Linked DNA regions of Homo sapiens: regions 2 and 3 are each linked to region 1. Evidence: promoter capture Hi-C in 16 types of primary human blood cells and fetal thymus (Javierre and others, 2016). All regions are on one chromosome and are shown on one strand. The core of a region is centred on a gene start or on the middle of the fragment in contact, and the rest is flanking DNA. Distances in the headings are between cores, read along the strand shown. Region 1 holds the start of PSMB4 (proteasome 20S subunit beta 4). Region 2 has its middle 15 kb from the start of MRPL9. Region 3 overlaps TDRKH (tudor and KH domain containing).

Evidence for each region. Contacts are between HindIII fragments. The CHiCAGO score rates a contact against its expected background, and 5 or more counts as called.
Region 2: a contact is called between a fragment that was not itself captured here and the fragment with the promoter of PSMB4 in region 1, in 1 of 17 cell types (M2 macrophages). The highest score is 5.2, in M2 macrophages.
Region 3: a fragment that was not itself captured here is called in contact with the fragment with the promoter of PSMB4 in region 1 in 3 of 17 cell types (M1 macrophages, M2 macrophages and M0 macrophages); the score reaches 7.8 in M1 macrophages.

The regions. Positions count from the first base shown.
Region 1 is chr1:151,397,624-151,400,987 of GRCh38, forward strand. It overlaps PSMB4 (proteasome 20S subunit beta 4), which reads left to right and starts at 1,950. Exons shown (of 7, transcript NM_002796.3): 1 at 1,950-2,104; 2 at 2,358-2,564; 3 at 2,819-2,965; 4 at 3,141-3,222. The coding sequence starts at 1,965. RefSeq lists enhancers at 1,307-2,029, 1,630-1,679, 2,030-2,751 and a silencer at 2,520-2,677. The HindIII fragment of the contact is 7,561 bases long and covers 1-3,364 here.
Region 2 is chr1:151,747,078-151,750,410 of GRCh38, forward strand. It overlaps the pseudogene RNU6-662P. Among named protein-coding and RNA genes, the nearest start is that of MRPL9, 15 kb to the right of the region's middle. The HindIII fragment of the contact is 7,839 bases long and covers 1-3,333 here.
Region 3 is chr1:151,780,607-151,783,724 of GRCh38, forward strand. It overlaps TDRKH (tudor and KH domain containing), which reads right to left. Exons shown (of 13, transcript NM_001083965.2): 2 at 2,293-2,443; 3 at 875-981. The coding sequence starts at 2,416. Among named protein-coding and RNA genes, the nearest start is that of TDRKH, 8.3 kb to the right of the region's middle. The HindIII fragment of the contact is 4,445 bases long and covers 1-3,118 here.

The DNA.
Region 1 (3,364 bases), core at 700-3,199:
CCACTGCACTCCAGCCTGTGCAACAGAGCAAGACTCCCTCTCAAAATAAGAAAAAAAGAAAAAAAACAAAAACAAAAATTAGCCGGGTGTGGCATCTGTAGTCCCCAGCTACTCGAGAGGTTGCAGCTGGAGGATCGCTGGAGCCGGGGAGGCAAGGGTCGCAGTGAGCCGAGATCATGCCACTGCACTCCAGCCTGGGTGACAGAGCCAGACCTTGTCTCAAAAAACAAACAAACAAAAGACACCTAAGGACAGTGTTGAGGATGGTATCCTCACCAGTCTCTGTGGGAGGATGGAATCCTAACTTCCATAAATGCCAGCTAGCAGACATCATTGACCTAAGCACATTTACATTGACTAATTCTGTAAATGTTCACTTCCCTGACTCTACTGACCCTCTGTCTCACTGTCCCCTAACCTCATTTTCCCTATAAAATACCCATTACTTGCATACAAATTGCAGTTGAGTTCAGTTCATGCTGAACTGTTTTTCCTTATTGTAGTAGTTATTACTGATTGAAATCTGTCCTTTCCACTTTAGTGTCCGGCTTTGTTTATCTTTGACAAAATTCACCAGTTTGATTCAAGACAGTTTCCAGCCCCTGCTATGGAGTTACACTGAGAAGGAAACCCCTGGAATTTAGTTTCACCCCTACACTTCCAATGGAATTTTTCTGTTTCTTTAGAGGTGGGCAAGGGCCCTTGACAATAAGGAAACTTTCAGACTTGTCTAAGGTCCCACAGAGAGTGCTTGATCCACCTGAGCTATCACACCCCACAGGGTATACACAAGTGTATTCTTTTTTTTTTTTTTTTTTTTTTTTTTTTTGTGACAGGGTCTCGCTCTGTTGCCCAGGCTGGAGTGCAGTGGCGCCACCTTGGCTCACTGCAACCTCCCTCGGGTTCAGGCGATTCTCCCACCTCACCCTCCCAAGTAGCTGGAATTACAGGCCTGGCTAATTTTTTGTTTTGTTTTGTTTTGTAGAGGTGAGGTCTCACCATGTTGCCAAGGCTGGTCTTGAATTCCTGGGTTCAAGTGATCCTCCCGTCTTGGCCTCCCAAAGTTCTGGGATTACAGGCATGAGCCACCGCACCCGGCCCTGATTCCTTTTTTTATTCTAGCTTCAAGATTCAGTTCTACCGTTATCGGCTGTGTGACTGGGTAAATCACTACACCGCAAGCCTCGGTTTCCTATTTACCAAATGGGTCGAATAATGCCTGCCACATGGGGCTGCTCTGAGGAGTACAGATGTAAGAGATCCTGTGTTCACTGATATTTTCATGTGGGCTTTTTGATAATGATACAAAAGGAACATGAGAACTGTGACTTCTAGGCCGGGCGAGGCGGCTTACTCCTGTAATCCCAGCACTTTGGGAGTCCGAGGCAGGCGGATCACCTGAGATCCGGAGTTCGAGACCAGCCTGGCCAACATGGTGAAACCCCATCTCTAGCAAAAATACAAAAAATTAGCCAGGCGTGGTGGCAGGCGCCTGTAATCCCAGCTACTCGGGAGGCTAAGGCACGAGAATCGCTTGAATCTGGGAGGCGGAGGTTGCAGTGAGCCGAGATCGCGCCACTGCATTCCAGCCTGGGGGCCAGAGCGAGACTCCGTCTCAAAAAAATAAAAAATAAAATAAAAAATTGTGACGTCTCACTCAGGATCAGCGTCTTTAAGTGGCCACCTCCCCACCCCACCTTCATGCCTCCCTCCTCCTTGAATCGTGTGTTAGAACGCTGTGATCTGGTCCAAACTCCACGGAGATGCGATGCGATGCGAAGCGATGTTGGGCAATTTCAACTCCCTGTCTCGGTCGCCACCTAGGATTACTGCATGTTCAGCTACGACCTCATCAACATGGCTGCTGGAAGTCGTCTACAGGAAAAAGAAAGAAATGACACTGAAGGATCACTTCCGCTTCCGTTGGCGCAAGCGCTTTCATTTTTTCTGCTACCGTGACTAAGATGGAAGCGTTTTTGGGGTCGCGGTCCGGACTTTGGGCGGGGGGTCCGGCCCCAGGACAGTTTTACCGCATTCCGTCCACTCCCGATTCCTTCATGGATCCGGCGTCTGCACTTTACAGAGGTCCAATCACGCGGACCCAGTAAGTTCTCGGCGCTTTCGTTTGCGTAGCGGGAGGGACCGTGGGGCCTGGTGCTGCCGGCTGGTTTTGAGAGCCCGGGAAGGTGAGGCGGGGACCCCGGGGGCGCGCGAACGGCAGGGGAGCTCAGGGCGCGGAGTCCTGGAGAATGCAGAATAATTGGAAGGAATTATAGAAAATCAGAAGCGCAGCTCAGTGCGCGGAAAGAGGGCGCAGTCCATCCCCCCTCTCAGCTCCCACCGTTCTCACTCTTTAGGAACCCCATGGTGACCGGGACCTCAGTCCTCGGCGTTAAGTTCGAGGGCGGAGTGGTGATTGCCGCAGACATGCTGGGATCCTACGGCTCCTTGGCTCGTTTCCGCAACATCTCTCGCATTATGCGAGTCAACAACAGTACCATGCTGGGTGCCTCTGGCGACTACGCTGATTTCCAGTATTTGAAGCAAGTTCTCGGCCAGATGGTGTAAGTCATCCAGAGAACAGGAGAGTGGTTCCCAAGTAGAGAGGGGAGTCCCCTGTTTTTTATTCCCTTCGATGGGATGGGGGGACTTGTTGCAGCGGGGGACTGGAAGAGTTGTTGGAGGTGGGCGATCTGTGTTTGCAATAAAGTTTTTGGCATTAGGTGTAAAATGGGGGAAGGTGTGGTAACTTCTTTTGGGGATGGGTGGAGACCCCGACTTAATTCTCTCCCTTTTCTCACAACCAATTCCTTTTAAGGATTGATGAGGAGCTTCTGGGAGATGGACACAGCTATAGTCCTAGAGCTATTCATTCATGGCTGACCAGGGCCATGTACAGCCGGCGCTCGAAGATGAACCCTTTGTGGAACACCATGGTCATCGGAGGCTATGCTGATGGAGAGAGGTTCATATGAATACAAATAACTTATTTCCTTTACCACCCAACCTAGTACCTGTGTAGTATCTCTTCTGTCTCTTCTCCCCAAGTGAATCCCACTTTAACTCAGACCCCATGGTCCCCTTCTTCAGCTAAGATGAATCTAAGGTGAAATGAGTTTTGACCCATTGTGTCCTGTTAGCTTCCTCGGTTATGTGGACATGCTTGGTGTAGCCTATGAAGCCCCTTCGCTGGCCACTGGTTATGGTGCATACTTGGCTCAGGTAAGTAGTAAGTCTAGAGGTGGGGGAAAGGGAAGACAAAAGGAAATGGATTAGTGGTTGTCTGCTTTTCTCCTGAAATTCTGATATGAGGGATGGGCTGGGATCGCTATTACTGGGCAGATGGTTTTCTTTGTAGTCTGGG
Region 2 (3,333 bases), core at 324-2,823, 350 kb after region 1:
CAAGTGATCTGCCTGCATTGGCCTCCCAAAGTGCTGGGATTACAGGTGTGAGCCACCACTTGTGGCTTTTTTTTTTTTTTTTGACAGGGTCTCGCTCTGTCACCCAGAGTGAAGTCCAGTGGCACAATCTCGGGTCACTGCAATCTCCGCTTCCAAGGTTTAAGTGATTCTCCTGCCTCAGCCTCCTGAGTAGCTTGGGTTACAGGTGCCTGCCACCAAGCCCAGCTAATTTGGTTAATGTCTGCATGATATAACTTTCCCCATCCTTTTACTTTCAGCCTGCCCATATCATTATATTTAAAGTAAGTTTCCTGTAGATAGTACATAGTTTGGGTCATGCTTTTTAATTCATTCTACTAATCTTTATGTGGTTATTGGTATGTTAGGGCTTAAGTCTGCCATTTTTTGTTTTGTTTTTTTTTTTCCCAATTTTTGTTTCTTTGTTTTCTTTTGCCTACCTCCTAAAGATTACTTGAACATTTTTTAGAATTCTATTTTGATTTATCTATGGCATTTAAAAAATATATGGAGTGCTTCACAAATTTGCATGTTATCCTTACACAAAGGCCATGCTAATCTCTGTATCATTCCAATTTTAATGTATGTATTGCTGAAGTGAGCACTTTCTACAGTGTTTTTGAGTATATTCGTATAGCTTTCTTATTGGTTGTTCCAGGTATTATATTATATATACACATAACTTATTATAGCCTATGCTGTCATTATTTTACCAGTATGAGTGAAGTATGGAAACCCTCTCTTTGTCCCTTTTCCCTCTCTAATTTATAATTTCTAAAAACATTCCCTCTACATACCTTTAGAATAAAATCAGAAAGTGTTGTTATTTTTGCTTCAACTGTCAAACATAGTTTAGAAAATTCAATAGAAGAAATGTCTATTGATTTTCCGATATTTTTTGCTAACTGTGTCTTTTCTTCCTAATGTTCCAAGATTTCTTTTTTCATTGTTTCCTTTCCATTTAGAGAATCTCTTTTAGCCACTTTTAGAGTAGGTCTACTGGTGACAAACTCTTTTTGCTTTCCTAAGAAAACTTCTGATAATGTCTTAGTTTCCTCTTCATTCCTGGAGGATTTTTCTTTCTGTGTATAGAATTCTATTTCTTTCTGGGTATAGAATTCTGAGTTGACTGCTATTTTCCTTCAGCCCTTGAAAAATATTGTACCAATTCCTTCTGGCCTCCATGATTTCTGATGAGAAATCCATTGTCACTGAATTGTTTGTTTCCTTATAGTGACATTTTCAAGAGTTTTTTTTCTTTGTCTGATTTCAGAAGTTTAATTTTAACGTGTCTTGGCACAGATTATTTGGGTTTATCTTGGTTGAGGTTTCCTCAGCATTTTTTCTTTTTTTTTCTTTTTTGAGACAGAGACTCACTCTGTTGCCCAGGCTGGAGTGCAGTGGTGTGATTACAGCTCACTGCAGCCTTGACCTCCTGGGCTTGAGTGATCCTCTCACAGCTGGGACCACAGGTGCATGCCAACATACCTGGCTAATATTTTGTGTGTGTGGTTTTTTTTTGTTGTTTTTGTTTTTGTTTTTTTGGTTTGGTTTTTTTTAGAGATGGGGTTTTACCATATTTCCCGGTCTGGTCTTGAACTCCTGGCCTCAAGCAGTCTGCCTTCCTCTGTCTCCCAAAGTGCTGAGATTACAGGCGTGAACCACTGTACCCGGCCTTCCTCATCTTTTTGAATCACTATGTTTATGAATCACTATGTTTTGTCTCTTGACAAACTTGGGAAGTTCTCAGTCATTATTTCTTGGTGTACTTTTTCAGCCCTGCCTTCTTTTTTTCTTCTTCTGGGACTCCAGTGACAGGAATGTTAGATCTCTTGTTACCATCTCTCAGGTCCCTGGGGCTCTATTCATTTTCTCACTCTATTTTCTCCGTTGTTCAGACTGAGTAGTTTCTATTGTTCTACCTTATGGTATGCTGATTCTTCCCTTTCTTCTCTTTATTCTGGCATTGAGCCTATCCACTGAGCTTTTCTATTTGTTTATTGTATTTTATAGTTTTAAAATTTCTATTTGGTTCTTCCTTATACTTTCTATTTCTTTGCTGAAGTTGTATAGTTTTTCACTTTTTTCAAGTGTGTTCATAACTGCTTCTTGAAGCATTTCTATCATAGCTGCTTTAAAATCTTTGTCAGATATTCTAATATAGCTGCCATCTCAGTGTTGACCTCTATTGTCTTTTTTCATTCAGTTTGAGATCTGGACATTTTTGTATTATGTTATAAGACTTTGGATCTTAATTTAAAACTTTTGTTTTAACTAACTTTGTCTGTCACTGCATTGGCATGAGAGGGGGTGTCATTTCATTGCTGCCAGGTGAAGGTAGAAGTTCAGATTTCCCACTGTACCTCTGTTGACACTCAAGCGGGACAGGTCTCCTCCTTACTGCTGGATAGGGCTGCTTGTTCCAGCCCCACATGGTGTCTACTGATACTGTGGTAGAGGTGGCCTCATTACCTCTGGGTGATGGTTAAAGTCCTGACTCTCTACTAGGCCTCCTCTGATACCAACTGAGCAGAAAAGCAGAGGGGTACCTCATTTCTGCCAGATGGATATCCAGGTTCCCCACTGACACCACGGTCTTTATTGCCATCATGCACACAGAGAGGAGGGCTCATTACTGGCTGGCTGGGACAAAAGTCCCAGTTCCCTACTTGGCCTTGTGTGACACCACTCTAGTAAGGGTATTGGGGTGGCCTGTTACAATCTTGAGAGAGTGGAAGTCTAGGTTTCCCACTTAGTTTTGGCATGGGTTGGGGTAGGGCCACGGTAATAGAGTTCTCCAGAGAAATAGAACCAATGGAATATATGTATAAATTGGCTCATGTGATTATGGAGGCTGAGAAACCCAATGATCTGCCATCTGCAAACTAGAGCCCCAGGAAAGTCCGTGGTGTAATGCCAGTCTGAGTCTGAAAGCCTGAGAACCAAGGGAGCCAGTGGTATAAATTCCAGTCCAAGAGCAAGAGAAGATTGATGTCCCAGCTCAAGTAGGCAGGTAGGAAGCAAAACAGGGACATTTGTCCTCCCTTTGCCTTTCTGTTCTATTCAGGCCCTCAACAGATTGGATGATGTCCACTCACACCGGGGAGAGTAATCTGCTTTACTGAGTCCATGGATTCAAAAGCTAATCTCATCCAGAAACACCTCACAGACCACCCAGAATAAAGTTTAATCTAGGCACCCTGTAGCATGGCTAAAAGTTCCTGTCTTGCAGACTGCCCCTTGCCTTTGGCTAGCAGAAACAGGCTTTTGTTGGAGCTTTTCTTTTTCTTTTTGGTCTGTGCCCATTGACATTTC
Region 3 (3,118 bases), core at 43-2,542, 380 kb after region 1:
TTGGGAAGCCAAGGCGGCTGGATCACGAGGTCAGGAGATCGAGACCATCCTGGCTAACATGGTGAAACCCTGTCTCTACAAAAAATACAAAAAATTAGCTGGGAGTGGTGGCGGGCACCTGTAGTCCCAGCTACTTGGGAGGCTGAGGCAGGAGAATGATGTGAACATGGGAGGCGGAGCTTGCAGTGAGCCAAGATCATGCCACTGCATTCCAGCCTGGGTGACAGAGCCAGACTCTGTCTCAAAAAAAAAAAAAAAAAGGATAATTCAAGTTATACCATGCTGACAATCACCCAGTCAAAAACCCGTATTTCAAGCTAAGTCATCCTTTCTCTAGGGAGAAGTACTCTTCTCTAGAAGGGAAGTAGCTAAAAAGTTTAGTTAGCTAAAAAGTTCCTCTATTTGTTCTTTTAAAAATATACATAGTGGTTGGGCCCAGTGGCTCACACCTGTAATCCCAGCACTCTGGGAGGCCGAGGCAGGCGGATCACCTGAGGTCAGGAGTTCGAGATCAGCCTGGCCAACATGACGAAACCTCGTCTCCACTAAAAATACCAAAAATTCGCTGGGCGTGGTGGCGGGTGCCTGTAATCCCAGCTACTCGGGAGGCTGAGGCAGGAGAATCACTTGAACCCAGGAGGCGGATGTTGCAGTGAGCCGAGATCGTGCCATTGCACTCCAGCCTGGACAACAAGAGCGAAACTCCATCTCAAAAAAAAAAAATATATATATATATATTTTATATATACACACACACATACACACACACACAGAGCATGTGAATGTTTTGTGATATGGGGTCAGTGGAAGGAAACAAGAAATCAATAAACAGAATCAATCCTTGGGAAAGCAGACTGCCTACTCACACACTTACCTGTTTAATATTGGCTCCTTGCCGGCCAATGATGAGTTTCACAGCCTCCTGGGGAACCCGCATCTCTATCTCAATGTCATCTTCCCCAACAAATGTCAGCCGCTCTTCTGCACAGATCATTGTTCATCAGATCAGACTTAGATAACACCCAAAGCTAGTATAACTACCAGTCCTCCCCAGAATCTGGCTGTCAAAGAGACACTGATCCAAGAGATAAAGTGAGGATCTCAACCATAACAACAAGGAAAAGTGGCATCTGAATGGGAATTAGAAGGTCCCAAAGGATCAGAGATGGGCATTTTCTCTGGGACACTGTTTCAGATGCTAAAATGGGAAAAGCAGATTCTGCAATAAACAGGTGCTGGGGTTTGGGCAAACTACTTCTCCCAAGACATGACTACTGGAGAAGAATGAAGGCCAAAAGTTACCTGAGGGGTCCATTAGGCTCAGAACTTCTCCTGACTGATAGGTACATAAGTCATTTCTCTAGGTCCTATTCTCTAGATCCAGCCTTTGAGGTAAGTGCCTTCTACTAACAACTAATTAGAGAAAAGGAATATATAAAAAAGATGAGTATAGAAATTAAAAAAGAACTCTTTGCTGTGTTGATGTTGCTGAAGAAAGCACATCAATGGAGTTATAAAATGAGTTCATTTCATAGACTAGCTTACTTTGCTATGTAAGAACATAGCAAAGACTAGGCCAGGTGCAGTGGCTCATGCCTGTAATCTCAGCACTTTGGGAGGCCGAGGCAGGTGGATCACTTGAGGTCAGCCACCCTGGTGGTGAAACCCCGTCTCTACTAAAAATACAAACATTAGCCAGGAGTGGTGGCACACGCCTGTAATCCCAGCTACTAGGGTGGCTGAGGCAGGAGAACTGCTTGAACTCGGGAGGCAGAGGTTGCAGTGAGCCGAGATTGCTCCACTGCACTCCAGTGTGGGCGACAGAGTGAGACTCTGTCTCAAAGAAAAAAAAAAGACTAAATAATTTTAGTCAAAGATTCCTCACAGAAAGTCAATTAAAATACCTGGGTCAGGCATGGAGGCACATGCCTGTAATCCTAGCACTTTGGGAGGCCGAGGCAGGTGGGTTGCTTGAGCTCAGGAGTTCAAGACCAGCCTGGGCAACATGGGAAAACCCCATCTCTACAAAAAATACAGGCCTGTGGTCCCAGCTACTTGGAGGCTGAGGTGGGAGGATTGCTTGAGCCCAGGAGGTCGACACTACAGTGAGCCAAGATTGTGCCACTGTACGCCAGGCTAGGTGACAGAGTGAGACCCTGTCTCAAAAAAACCCCACAAAAAACCCCAAAACAAAACACACACAATACCTGGCAAGGAAAGAGTTTTTTTCAATTTAACAAGGCAGGAGCATGTCTGAACATTTTCACACACACAGTCATAGGGTTCACGTACCTCTGCTTTCCCTATACCTGCGGTATAGGATATAGGCAACTGTTGCACTGGCTGGGATCCCAAGGCCCAGGGCTATTTTCTGAATGGTGGACAGGCTTGTCCAAGAAGTCCGTTCAGTAGACATTTTCTGCTGTACTCTTTGACTTATATCCTGAAACAAGCAAAGCAGGGAAAAGAGGGAGGTTTCATCCAATCCTTTTATGAATAGCAGAGAGGCATGGGAGCACATTATTACTGAAAAGACTACTACTGCCTACCTTCCAATTTCAAGAGCTTCAGCAATTTCAAAATTTATTTCATATAAAAAGGGCTCAGGGTATTTTTTAAAAGTTAGCTAAGGTACACATAGAATTAAATAGAAGCATACTTCACTTTCCCCACCCAAGTCAGTTTTAAAAGACAAAAAAAATTAAATGAATCAAATATTTGAAATATATATACTTAGATTTCATATTAAATTATTTAAAATTACTTATCTAAGTCCTTTTATGCCTCCAGGGCTTTCCAGAAGCTGCTGCCTCTGCAAGAAATGCCATTCCAGGCTTAGTAAAGGCCTTACTATTTATCTTTGTTGGAAGTACAGTCTTCATTTACTGTCTCTACTTTTGGTTTCTATTTATTTACTCCTTAACGAACAGTGAAATGGGGTTCTTCCCTGCTCCATCGCCAAAACTGTAACTTCCCAGATAATCAACCTACAGGTCATGCATGGAGCCTTATCTCACCCATCTCTCTGCGGTAGCAGGAAGGTGGCCACTCCCTCCACAAAACTCTTTCCTTGGTTTCTGTGCCCTCTTTCTCTTGGTTTCCTCTTATTTCCCTGGAG